Linked DNA regions of Homo sapiens: regions 1 and 3 are each linked to region 2. The links are contacts of gene promoters, found by promoter capture Hi-C in blood cells and fetal thymus (Javierre and others, 2016). All regions are on one chromosome and are shown on one strand. The core of a region is centred on a gene start or on the middle of the fragment in contact, and the rest is flanking DNA. Distances in the headings are between cores, read along the strand shown. Region 1 holds the start of PARP15 (poly(ADP-ribose) polymerase family member 15). Region 2 holds the start of IQCB1 (IQ motif containing B1). Region 3 overlaps PARP14 (poly(ADP-ribose) polymerase family member 14).

Region 1 (4,299 bases), core at 514-3,013, 740 kb before region 2:
CAGAAGTATACACTAAAAAGTATGAATTTTCTAAATATAGAAAAGCTGTCTGTAAATTACACCTTAATTTTTAAAATGAAAGAAAACATCAAAGCATACATACACGTAAATAGACAACATAGCGAATGAGTAAACCTCATATATAATATTGAGAAAAAAGAAAAATTGAAATGTTTTATGTGAAGATAACTATAAACCTTCTTTAAAGACACAAAAATAGACTTAAACAATGAAAAGGCATCCTTTGTTTCGCTTCCTTTTCTATGTGCTTCAAAACATTCCTTCATAATGGAGATTTCATTGGTTGTGTCGAGGATCAGTACACAGATATTTCAATTTGTACACTATTCTTAACATACACACACAAAAAAGTTTAAAAAGTCATGTATTGTAATTGTTTTTAAAAGTTATTCTAGTGACTTTCCAGCTTAAAATTTGGAGGCAAATTTTCCTTAAGAGGATATGAAGTACCAGTATCTACAATTGTTGAAAAGCTGTTACATATGTCCCACCAATTCACAATTTAATATCATATACATTACATACTCAAATTTTCAATCTTTCACAGCACAGTAGGTTAGACCATGTCAACACCACCTAAAGATATCAGCTCTCTGTAATTTATTAATTTAATGCAATCCCAATAAAAATTCCAAAGAGCTTTTCTTTTTTTTTTTTAAACTGATCATACATCAGAAAAGTTCATAAGGAAAAATAAACAACAAGAATAGCTAGGAAAATAGTGACAAGGAAGCACTCTCTAGGAAGACTAGCCCTGACATTAAAACATACAGCAAAGCCTCTCTAAAGCAGATGAATAAACGGGTCAATGGATGAAAATAGAAGGTCCAGAAATACCCGAACCACATATGAAAGTCTAGTACATGATAAAGCTGGTATCTCAAGTTACTGGGACAGTGACGACCTTTATAATAAATGGTGTTGGGACACTTGATACCCATTTGAAAAAAAATAATTAGATTCACTCCTCAAACCACACACAATAACACACTCCAAATGTATTATAGATCTAAATGTAAAAAATACATCAGTTCAAGTACTAGAAGCAAGCATGAGTGAACTCTTCTATAACTTGGGTGTAGGGAAGAGTATGACTAAAAGTCATATATTAAAATATGACTAAAAGTCTAGACGTCATAAAATAAAAGACTGGTAAGTCTTGCCACACAAAATTTAAAATATTTGCATGGCAAAGAGAAACAAAAGCCCCCCATAAGCAAACTCAAAAAACAAAAAATAAATTGGGAGGACATATTCATAACACATATCACGAATAAAGGACTCATATCCTTTCAAACTTTATAAAGAACTTTTAAATTTTAAGGGAAAAAAAAAAAAAACCACCAGAAATGCTAAGGAAAAAGAAGCAGCACGCATCCCCCTCTTCCGGAACAGGGAAGTCAGTGTAGTCGGCGCCCCCTAGAAGAGAGGGTTGTGCGTGGCGTGGGGTCTCTGCGCCCGCTCGGGCTGCTGGGTCTTGCGGGCCCCAGGCTCAGCCCTGCTGTCCCCTTCCCGCACCCGTCCCCCGCGCTCCTCACCATACTCCGGGAGGAAGAGCGCCGGGAGGCCTTCCGCGCCCCACGGTTCCCGGCCGGCAGCACGCTCCCCGCCTCCCGATCTCGTCCGGCTCTGGAAGTAACACCTGCAACTCCGTGCATAAGTTCTCTGGGGGTCGGAGCCCCTGGACTCAGAGCAGCGGCAGGAAGGGGGCCTGGCGCAGCCATCCTCAGCTCGCTGGGACTGCAGTTGCGCCCCACCCAACAGGCTTGTGCCTCGAACTTCTTTTCTCTGAAAACCGCTTCCGTCAAAGATTGAGGCCTCGAGTTTGCGAACAGCTGCCTCAGGATTGTGTCGCCCTTTGGGACAGACGTTACTGCCAGACAAATCCTGGGTCAAAATCCTGAGGTCTGCAATTTTATTAGTTATGTAGCCTCAGTCAATAGCATCTGTACAGTGGGCACAGCCATAACTATTTCATGTTATTATAATGAAGATTAAATGAGATAAAGTCTGTAGAATGCCTGGCACATTAAAACACAGGAATCAGTATTCCTTTCCTTTTCTGTTGGGCATCCCACTCCTTTCCCCCCAATTCTCCCTACACACCCATATTTAGAAAAATACACTGGGTTCTCTCCTGTGCTCCCTAAGCCAGGGCTGGAGTCAGGTTCCCCTCTGGCCCAACAGGGCATTATTTAATTCAATCAACGCGTATTGAAGGCCTTTGATATGCCTGGCACTGTGTTAAGATTATAAAGATGAATTAGACACAGATCCCCTCTCTTTGGAGTGAGGGGTGAAGTAGGAGGTGGAGAAATAAAACATAGATTAATACTGTTACCTGGTGTATCACGAAAAGTCCTGGCAGTATACAGATGGTATACTCAAAATTAATAATTGAAGATAATTTAATAAAGAAATTATTTACACAGGTGTGGGCAAAGGGTTAAGGAAACCATTGAGAGATGGTGAAGTAGCCTCCTCCCCTTACCATCTAGGCTGAAGGGGCAAGGGAGGGGGCATCTCCTGAACTTGGTAAGAGCTATACCAAGTGCCAGCAGGTAGAACCCATGACTGCTTTCGGAAGACAGCCAGGGGAGTATAAGCATCCCAAGTACTCTCTCCGTGTGCCTTCCAATCTCGTGCTGGTACCTCCCACTGCAGAACCCAATGAGTAATCAGAGAATGGAGCTGATGTGGTACTTAGAGGTCAGCCCTCAGTACCACCTCCAAGGCAGAGAGCAGGGTAAAAGGTTTTGGTATCGTATTTGCATTGAGATACATATAAAGTATTAGGATAACAGAAATCAGTGGTTCGTTGTAATTTAGAGACAAGATTGGAGAAAAGTTTCTATAGTAGTGGCATTTCAGTAAGACCTTGCATGATGAGTAGGGGACTTTCTAAGAGGAAAATCAGGTGAAGAATGAGAATGAGGTGTGTCTCTCTCTCCCTCTCTCTCTTCAGAGTTCCCTTTTTCATCATCTGTCATGCAGAGAGCAGCGATGGGGGTGGATTACACAGAACAAAGATCACATGAATGAAAGCATAGACTGTGCTTTGGAAAATCTTGTAGTCTGGTGTGACTGAACCCTAGGGACTTGGTGGTGAGGAAGGAGCACAAAGTATGCAAAGTGGCATGAGCAATCGCTAACGGCCATGCTGCTGAGTTTAAACTCTATTTTCTAGGCCAGTGGATCTCTAAATGTAATTCCCAGACCAGCAACATCAGGTTCATTGTGAAGCAGTAACCAGGGTGATAACCCCTAGCACCGCGTTACATTACATCTTACTTTGCCTCACTTCTCTTTTTGTTTGTCCTTGGGCTTGGACCTCCAAAATTATTAATATCTTAATCTTTGCATCAAGCTCTATGTTTTAGATCTGATCAATAAAAATGACCCAATCGATAAAAAAGGAAATAGCACCTAACTTCTGTATGGAAATCAAACCAAAAACAGTACTAAACATTTTTTTTTTTTTTTGAGACAGAGTCTCGCTCTGTTGCCCAGGCTGGAGTGCAGTGGCCTGATCCCAGCCTACTGCAACCTCTGCCTCCTGGGTTCAAGCAATTCTCATGCCTCAGCCTCCGGAATAGCTGGGATTACAGATGTGTACCACCATGCCTGGATAATTTTTGTAAACACTAAACTATTACGGTAAGTGTAAGGAAGTCCAATAAAGATCTTATTTTTCTCCTAATGATTACTTTGATGCTATTTTCAGGGAAGCATCAAATATGTATTATTCTTTTATTTTATTTTTTCTTTGGAGAGAAGGGTGCCCCTGATCTAATAGTGCTCAATGACCTGTCTGGGTACTTCAGCACCAATGTTGGAGAGGTGAAACAGAACCTCAAGAAGCAAGGAGAGGGCAAATATAGTTTGATAGGGTATTGTATATACTCTCTCCAGGAGAGAAGAGATGATATCTGCAGCCTACTTTTATCTTTATAACCTATATGTTATAAGGAAAAAATACTGAGAAATGTGATTTTTACAGCCAAAAGTAACAGCAGTGAAGTCAAGAGTAGTTAAGTTGTACTGTGATCATATTTAGGAAGCAGCTACACACAAAATCAACCAAAGATCTCCATGCACATGTTATACAACTGTATGCTGTGTGTGTTGTAGGAAACACCCAGAATCTCAACCTAAAGGAAAAAAAAAGAAGCAAGGGAAAGAACACAATTTGTTCCAAATCTTTAACTTTATTTAAAGCAGATACAGATGATAACAGCTTCCAAAGAGTAAAAGCAGTAACCCAAATGCTCTGCAATC
Region 2 (4,417 bases), core at 1,499-3,998:
TCCCATGCCCTTCCTACCACATGCCAGACTATCTTTTTGATAGTTTTTATTGCTAAACTCTGATAAATGCTGTTTCAAAGTCTGACTAAATTACATTCATTAGCACCCCTCGTACACATATGAATATAACTCTTCAACATTAATGGTGACTACTATTTATTCTCTACCCTGTGGCAAATATTGTTCCAGGTTGTTTATGCTATCTTATTTAATCCTTACACAAACCATGAAATGTAAATATTACTATTATCTTTTAGCCATAAGAAAACTGAGGTTGAGAGCTTAGAGAATGTTCCCAAAGTCACATTATATATATAGGTGGTGGAGACCAGGATTCACATCCGGGTTTGCCTGAAGTCTTATATCAGACAGGCAGAATTGCTCCTGTAAATAAAGGCAGAATATTACTTTCTCTCCAATGACATTGGCTTGAGGGTTGGTTATAAATTAGGTCCCCCTTATCTGCATGAACATCAGCTTCATACTATTCTACAATTTTCAAACCTCACTCTGAGTTCTTAAGAGTGAGGATTACATTGGAAATGAACCTGTCCTCAAGAATAATAAACAGTTTTATTTAAATAAATCTAAAATGATTCTGTGCCATTACCACACCTGCTTCAACAACAACAATAAAAGAAAATAAGGACTGAAAACTTTTCTAATAGTTCTGTCTTCCACAGGACTAAGTGTGTATTCAAACATGTATGTTTGTTTATTTATTATTGTCATTATTGTTGTTTTGCTTATTTTTGTTTATTTTCATTCTGGTAGCTGGATCATCTGATCCTCTGACTTTCAAGATACTGGCATTTTCAGAACCTTTATAAATGAAAGGCTGTGAAGGACCTGCAAGATTATTTTCAAAGGCAATTTTTTATTCATTTAAATTGGGATTTGTGCCCTACATAAGAGAATATATACCCAAATCATATAGAAATATATTCTTAAGCAAATTTTTATAATCTTAAGCCCTTGTAACTTGAAAAATTAATATTAAGACTATTGCATACCTGAGAAGGAAGAGAAAAGGAGAGAGTAGATACTATTTGAGAAAAAGGCATGGAAAAACCAGATAAAGACGCATATCACACTTCCGGAAAATGGGACTGAAGAGAGAGAAACTGCAGAGCCAGCACAGCACCATCTCATCGTGGGGAGCTCTGGATGAGAAAGTATATGATAAAGAAGAATAAACAAGGGACACTGTTGAAGAGTTTCTGTTCACAAATATCTCACCCATTTATTCTACCAATTGGATGTTAATTTTGCTTTAAAAAAACCCTTTTAGTAAATATATTCTTGCAGGGTTAAAACCAGTGGTTCTTCATACCTTTACTTTGAGTAACTATAACTAAATTGTCTACAACTTAAATAAACTTTTGGGAGAATGTATGCTTTAATTAGTTGTTTTGATTGAACCATGGAACATTTCAGAGTAAAAACCATAAAGGTCTCTAAACAACCCGAGAACAGAATGACTGAGAAAGGCGGAATGATGAGATATTAAGGAAGGGCAAGGCTGGGGAAAGGAAGTGAAAAAATACTTACAGTTTTACCACAGAAAAATGAGAAGTTATAATTCAGTGATCTTGAAGTTTCCTTCCCGCTCTACAATTCTATGACAGTTGTTATGCAAAAAACGAATGTCTTACACATAAAAACTTATATGCTATATTTTCCTTCCTGGAATCTATATCATCCAACTGCTAAAGCAAAAGAGCTCCTTTTTCTACTCCAACAACATAAAAGAGAATAATTTATTAAAACTAGTTCCAGAGGACATAAAGAAAACCAAAGGGTAGAAATCATAGGGAGGTAAGCATCTTCCAAATAAAGAAATTAATAACACACCCTCGAATACTTTGATAATCAGTATTTGATAACTGAGTGAAATCTGGGGTCCAAAGAGATATACAGATCATTGGGATGGTTGAGAATTTCTCCCTTTGCAAAGAACACACCAAATAAGAACCCTCATCTGCCAGAGGTGAGAAAAAGTGATGAAAAGAGAGAATATTGCCCCACCAGCCTCAAGGCATTCAAGTTCCCCGGCATTCGGTCCTTAGTCCCTTCCCATTTGTCACCTTATTATTTTCCTGTCCACCCCTGCATCATCCACCTGTCACGTCTGTCTCCACAGTCACCTCTACAGACTTTTTTCACACTTTCCCTTCCTGTCTGCTGGTCTCAACGCTCTCTGTCCAGGGTTTACCCACATTTGCTCTACTCCGATTCCTTCCACCGACCCCCTAAGACTCCGAGCAGGTTAGAGGATCGCGCTGCCTCCCCCCTCCCCGCCCCGTAGTCTCCAACAGTGTAAGGGGTACTGTGGGAACAAAACCCAGAGGGGTTTGTGCCTCTTCACCCCCATCCCGGGAGGCTCCCCCTCTATCCCCGGATGGTCCTCACTCACAGCGCACAGTGTGGAAGGCGCAGCGCGGCTGCTTCTCGAAACTCTCCCCTAACTTGAGAACCCGCTCGCGACGGTCTAGGTGTGAGAATCCCGCTGCGCTATTCATAATTACTCTCCTGCTTTGACTTTAACTCCGCCACCAGCGCTCACTATCTGCCACCTCAGCCTGAAGCAGCTGCACTTGATCCCGCCAGCCAAGTCACCCAGACTCCACCCCGCGCTCGACGCGCACCGCCCCACCGGAGCGTCTCACGTTCTGATTGGCTTATTAGCAAAGGGCGCTCCGCCCCTTGACTCCGAGGCTCCTAGTCCCGCCTCCAGGCCCCTTCCCGCGTCGCGACGCACGCTGCCCCGGAAGGCCGCGGCGCTGTAGTGCGGCGTGGGAGCCCCAGGTTCTTTAGTGGAAGAACGCGAAGCGAGGATGAGGTAACTTATCTGAGGTGGTGGCTGGGGAGGGAGAGGGCCCCAGGGCGCCTACCAGGAGGCCAGGACCCCAGGCTCCTGGACGAAGTCAGCCGGCTTGTAAGAGCTCTTAACGGGAGAATCGGCCTGCCCTCACGCCCACTCTGTAGAGATCTGGTGTGGAAACTGAGGCCTGGGGAGGTGCAGTGTCCAGGCACAGGGCCTAGTGTCTTATCCAAGGCCTGGTAGCGCGAAAGCCGGGTCTAGAATCTGGAGTAAAGGAGCCCAGAGGCCCCAGAATCTCGGTCCTTAGACTTGAAGCGACGCTGTTACCTCAGTAATCGTTTTCTGACCTTTTTGTACCAGAGGAAGTTTCTTGTGGTCCTAGGACTGGAGAAGGGGATGTGTAGTGGGGAGGAGAAAGAGGATTCGGAGATAGCAACTGCAGACATTTAGGATCAGCCGCAACAGGATCGCACTGAATTTCCTTTTCATTTATTTTCCTCACAGTGATCCGTGGAGGCAGTAACAGGCGCGGCGAGGGAGAAGTGATTCCCGAAGAATCAAGGCTGGGCCGGACCCGGTGGCCTGGCAACAGGGTAGTAGCCTTAAAATAGATAAATAATTGTCTTTTTGTGTCAAATTTCATGAATTTAATGTAAAGATGGGAGAAGTGTTGAATTATAGGAGAAACACTCGAGAAAGTTTACAGATGGTTTCCATAACAGGTGGTTTTTCAGGGTAATTACGCAATCCAACTGCACTCCCTCACCTTCTGCCTTAGGCACATTTGTCAATTGATTTTGGGGTAGGTGGTTATGTCTCCTTCAACCTGTCTGTGTAAATCCTACCCTTTGAAGGTGTGCCGAAGCTGTTTCATATCGTAGTTAAATGCTTTAAGGCAGATGGTGGCTCTAGTTTGAACCCCTGCTTTATACTTAACAGTGTGACTTTGTGCCAGCTAATTACATTCTCCAGAGTTTAAGTATGCTCATTGTTCAAATTGGGAAAAAAATAATAGTATCTGTTCCTTAGAGTTGTTGGAATGATTAAATGAGTTAATACATGAAAGCAATTAGAACAATTCCTGGAGCATGATAAGAGGTCTCCAAATGGTTATTTAAGGCCCAGCTCTACACTTATACTACATTTTAAGACCATCTTGGTGGCTGCCTTCTCTTCTAAATAGAATCATTCTAGGAGGTAGGAATTGCTATTTTGTTTACAGCAAGAAAAATGGTTCAGAGAAGCCCAGTCCTCTGACTTTATGGCCTGTATTCTTATCTGTGTCATCTATTTAGCATTTAACATATATCTGATATTCTTAAGTATATTTTTTTGTATCTGTGTGTGTGTACACATGTACATAAACATACTTTTCTTTCCCAACCAGAACAATAGCAGAGAGTATGTCTTGTGTAGAATCTTTGCATCCCCTGCATCTACCATACTGCTCTGCACATATTTGTTGATGACAATAATGATTTAGTGATGTTTTATTACGGTAGCCAGGAGGGCACAAACTGTTTTGAGCCTATTTTACGTTAGAGAGGCTTCCAACTATAAATCTGAGCTTTCTCTATTGTAACAAGAGAAAAA
Region 3 (4,102 bases), core at 1,391-3,890, 860 kb before region 2:
GCTTATAGTAAGCACTCTATGAGAGTGTGTTATCATTACCTTCCATGAAGTCCAGTTTGGTAATACAAATATTTACTTCACCCAGTGAGATAACACATGTGAAAAAGCCGACTCCTGTACTTGGAATCACTTGGACTTCAGATGTCTATTTGCTGTGTTCACGCACTTTCTTACCCTCTCTGCCTGTCTCTCTCTCTCTCTCAGTCACACACACACACTTGGGCACTCCTGCAATAAAGTTAATTCTACTAAAAATATGGAATTTGGTTTCAATATGAATATGCTTCACTTTCAAAATAAAAAAAACTATATTAACTTGGAAACCTCTCTTAGTAGCTACTAGAAAGAGTCAAACTTTCAGAGATGTCCCCCTAAGAGGTATCTCAAGTCTCATGATGTGGTACAAAGAAGACAGGCAGAGGAAGTGTCACTTCATCTTACCTATGTGCTTTTGAAAGGTAACAACAGCAACATCAAAATCTCTTATTATTTCCACTTGAAAGTCATCATTAGACAGGCCACTTATGTTCTCCACTAACAAGATTAGCATTATGTCAGTCACATTTGCCTTGAGGTTTTCAAATGCCACCAAAGAGGAAATATTTTCACATTCCTCTGGGATATCTTCCATTTTGTCTAATCCACCATCAAGAGGGAGTTTTGTATCCAATTCTTCTGACACATCTGATTTTAGGAAGACAAAAGAGGTACAAGATGTTATACTTATCTACCATGGTCTTAGCAAAGTAAGTTATCACAAGGCACTGCCCTCTCTCCTTGCCAATCTCTTGGCTAACTCACAGAATAACAGACCTTGGATGGCTTTTTGCTTTATTTAAATAAAAACAACATGTAACATGTAATTGCCTATTATTAAAATTCATATTTTTAAATTTTCATTTTGACAAAATAGGTCTGTATTTTCAAGATTATAGGCATTATAGGGATAAAAAGATTTTCATTTATTGCTGGTGGGTACATATATTAACCTCTGTGGAAATGAATTTTAAAAATTTGTCCAAAATTATTAGTGATAAGAAAAAATATTCACATTACTTAGCTAAGTAAATAGTCATTTATAGAACAATTTACATTATAGGACTATTTTTATATGTGAATTTTATATTAAAATTATACATAATTGAAGTTTAATTTTATTATACCCTTTTCTGCCTGGCCTTTTTGAGGAACCTGCCTTATATTTCCTAGCACTTGATATCTATTTCTAGCACAGCACCAGACTAAAATTATTCAACAAAGCTTCTCAAAAGCGAGACACATGTTTATTCATCCTTGTATTGCTAGCATATGGTATATAATTGAGGCTCAGTAAATGTTTGCTGAATTGGAGATTTACTGCTTGGGTCACTGGAGGAAAGCAAGACTATCTGATGATGCCCAAACATGGGTATCACCTAACACATTATACTCCAAAAAATAGTTAAGTTCCCATCACTGAAAAGAAAAAAGGATCCCTATAGCAAATGATTAAGGAATACACACAGAAAGTGAAATGGCCAAGGCCTGCTGTATACGAAGCCCGCTGAATGGCAATCACCCAGCTGACTCATTCCTCTCCACTGTTGACTGTAAAAATGAGTTACACATACACACAAGGTCAGTCTCACTGTATGCTTGTCCACTGAAGCATGGTGGGTACGATCTGATCTTTAGGCATTCTGTGGACAGTTTTTCAATGGGGACTCTTATCGTGTTCAAGACCCTGGATGTAAGGAGAAGTAAGAATATAAAAAAACATTAGTTAAGAAATTTACAGATTTTCTAATGGAGGTATATGAGGAAAATGACATGTGTAAATGTTCGCAGTGGCCACATAAAATGCTCTGTGTGCACCAAATCCATTTTGCTTACTTCCTGGACAATATTTCTCAAGTTTTCTGCAGTTCAGTTTCAACAGTAGTGTCCCTGCAGTTAATGGAATATGGGTGGAAGTGAATTCCACCTTCAGGCCTGGCCAATATAAATATCCTTAATATGAAACCCCATTCTCCCTTGCAGTGACCTTGGAAACCACATTTAAAGATAATGGTGTCAAAGGGTGGAAGGAGCCTGGGTCCCTGAATGACCACATGAAGTGACTGACACTCCCACCACCATCACAGCTGCCAACTACACTGAACTGTGATGCGAAGGAGAAATAAACTTGTGTTGTGGCCAGGCGCAGTGGCTCATGCCTGTAATCCCAGCACTTTGGGAGAACGAGGCAGGCGGATCACTTGACATCAGGAGTTCCAGACTAGCCTGGCCAATGTGATGAAACCCTGTCTCTACCAAAAATACAAAAATTAGCCGAGTGTGGTAACACACGCCTCTAATCCCAGCTACTCAGGAGGCTGAGGCTGGAGAATCGCTTGAAGCTGGGAGGCGGAGGTTGCAGTGAGCCGAGATTGTACCACTGCACTCCAGTCTGGGCGATTCCGTCTCAGAAAAATAAATGAATAAATAAACAAACAAACTTGTGTTGTGTTAGGTTACTGATTTGGGAGGTTGTTTGTTACAACAGTTAGACCACTCTGTTGTGTGCTGGCTATCATGCCATGCACACACACTCATGCTAAATTAAAAAAAAAATAGCTTAAGCATAAAGCAACTACATAAATTAGCACTAAGTGAGACAGGTATGACAAATCACAATGACTGCTGGGCTAGGGAGGAGGCTATATGTGTTTAATCCCTGCTGCCACTCTTTAGCCATGTGACCTTGGGCATGTCTCTTAATCATAAAATGAGGGTATAGGACTAAGTGAACTGGACTGAAAGAATCTTTCCAGCAATATAGTTTTATAATCCCATCAATATTAGACGCTTCACCACAAGAAAGGCTTAATTGACCAAAAAAGAGCATTAACAATCAGGCCAAGAGTCCCAGAAAGAGATAAAAGGGCTGGGCTGGCATGGAAAGACTTGAGAGAAGAGGAGGAAGTTCAGCAGGTCTTGAAGGGTATGTGGAATTGGGTAGAGAAAAGTGGGCTAGAGGGAATGGTGAGCAACAGAAGCACAGGCAGAGTGCTGCAACTGCATCAGACAATTTAGAAAACAGTGATTTGACTGATGTGGCTCAAAAGGCGCACAATTGTGCAGAATGAAGAAAATGAGGCCAGAAAAGCAGACTAGATCCAGAAGGTGGTCTGGACTTTATCTCCCAGCTTGTGGTAAGGGTGAGTCATGGAAGGTTTCCATGAAAAGGATGGCAGGCTATTTAGCAATAGTGCAAAGGGCTGGTCAGGTTTAAGGAGAAGGGTGGCAGACACAGACAGAGCAGGCAGGGAGCTCCTGCCATGTTGAACTTGTGAGGTAAAAAGGAAGGGCCCGTGGTGAGAGAAGGATGGATAAGGAAAACTTTAAAAGAAAATGAGGCTGGGTGCAGTGGCTCATGCCTGTAATCTCAGCACTCTGGGAGGCCAAGGCGGGAGGGTCATTTGGGGCCAGGAGTTCAAGACCAGCCTGGGTAACATAGTGAGACCACGACTCCACAAAAAATGTTAAAAATTGGCTGGGCATGGTAATGCATGTTATAATAGCCCCAGCTACTTAGGAGGCTGCTGTGGGAGGATTGCTTGAGCCAGGGAGGTCGAGGCTGCAGTGAGCCAAGACAGCCTGAGCAACAGAATGAAACCCTCTCTCCAAAAACAATAAAATAAAATAAATAGGTCTCTATGATCAGCAGATGTGAAAGGAGTGATGCGTGAAATGTCTAGTAGGTGACGAGCAGACTGATTGTGTACTTCAAGAGAAATGAGGAAGCCAGAAAGGGCCCTTGCTTGGGGAGGAAGATGACACATGTGGCTTCAGGCATGTTGGCTCTAATATACTTCCCAACAGGAAGGTCAGACAGAAGTTCTGGAATTGAGAGAGGAGTCCAGGCTGGGGATATGGATTTGAAAACACCAGAATTTCCGACCACAGGTAAGCAGTATTTCTCTGCTCTTGCCCTTGTCTCTTCTCCAGGACCTTCCAAGTGCTGGTTTCCACCTTTCAGACCCAGCCCAACTAAGCTTATCCTGGAACAGGACATTAGCTCAGTGCTGACTTCACCTGATCTTGGTGTGTGTGCCTTTCCCTGCCCTGTCAGCTCCTGCAG

Evidence for each region. Contacts are between HindIII fragments. The CHiCAGO score rates a contact against its expected background, and 5 or more counts as called.
Region 1: the fragment with the promoter of PARP15 here is called in contact with the fragment with the promoter of IQCB1 in region 2 in 1 of 17 cell types (non-activated CD4 T cells); the score reaches 5.0 in non-activated CD4 T cells.
Region 3: a fragment that was not itself captured here is called in contact with the fragment with the promoter of IQCB1 in region 2 in 1 of 17 cell types (activated CD4 T cells); the score reaches 5.1 in activated CD4 T cells.

The regions. Positions count from the first base shown.
Region 1 is chr3:122,575,114-122,579,412 of GRCh38, reverse strand. PARP15 (poly(ADP-ribose) polymerase family member 15) reads right to left here and starts at 1,763. Exons shown (of 12, transcript NM_001113523.3): 1 at 1,560-1,763. The coding sequence starts at 1,745. DTX3L (deltex E3 ubiquitin ligase 3L) reads right to left here. Exons shown (of 5, transcript NM_138287.3): 5 at 4,210-4,299. RefSeq lists a silencer at 1,407-1,456 and enhancers at 1,517-1,796, 3,331-3,380. The HindIII fragment of the contact is 6,929 bases long and covers 1-4,299 here.
Region 2 is chr3:121,833,391-121,837,807 of GRCh38, reverse strand. IQCB1 (IQ motif containing B1) reads left to right here and starts at 2,748. Exons shown (of 15, transcript NM_001023570.4): 1 at 2,748-2,842; 2 at 3,329-3,417. EAF2 (ELL associated factor 2) reads right to left here and starts at 2,599. Exons shown (of 6, transcript NM_018456.6): 1 at 2,417-2,599. The coding sequence starts at 2,522. The HindIII fragment of the contact is 9,498 bases long and covers 1-4,417 here.
Region 3 is chr3:122,688,883-122,692,984 of GRCh38, reverse strand. PARP14 (poly(ADP-ribose) polymerase family member 14) reads right to left here. Exons shown (of 17, transcript NM_017554.3): 4 at 442-684. Among named protein-coding and RNA genes, the nearest start is that of PARP14, 10 kb to the right of the region's middle. The HindIII fragment of the contact is 2,756 bases long and covers 1,263-4,018 here.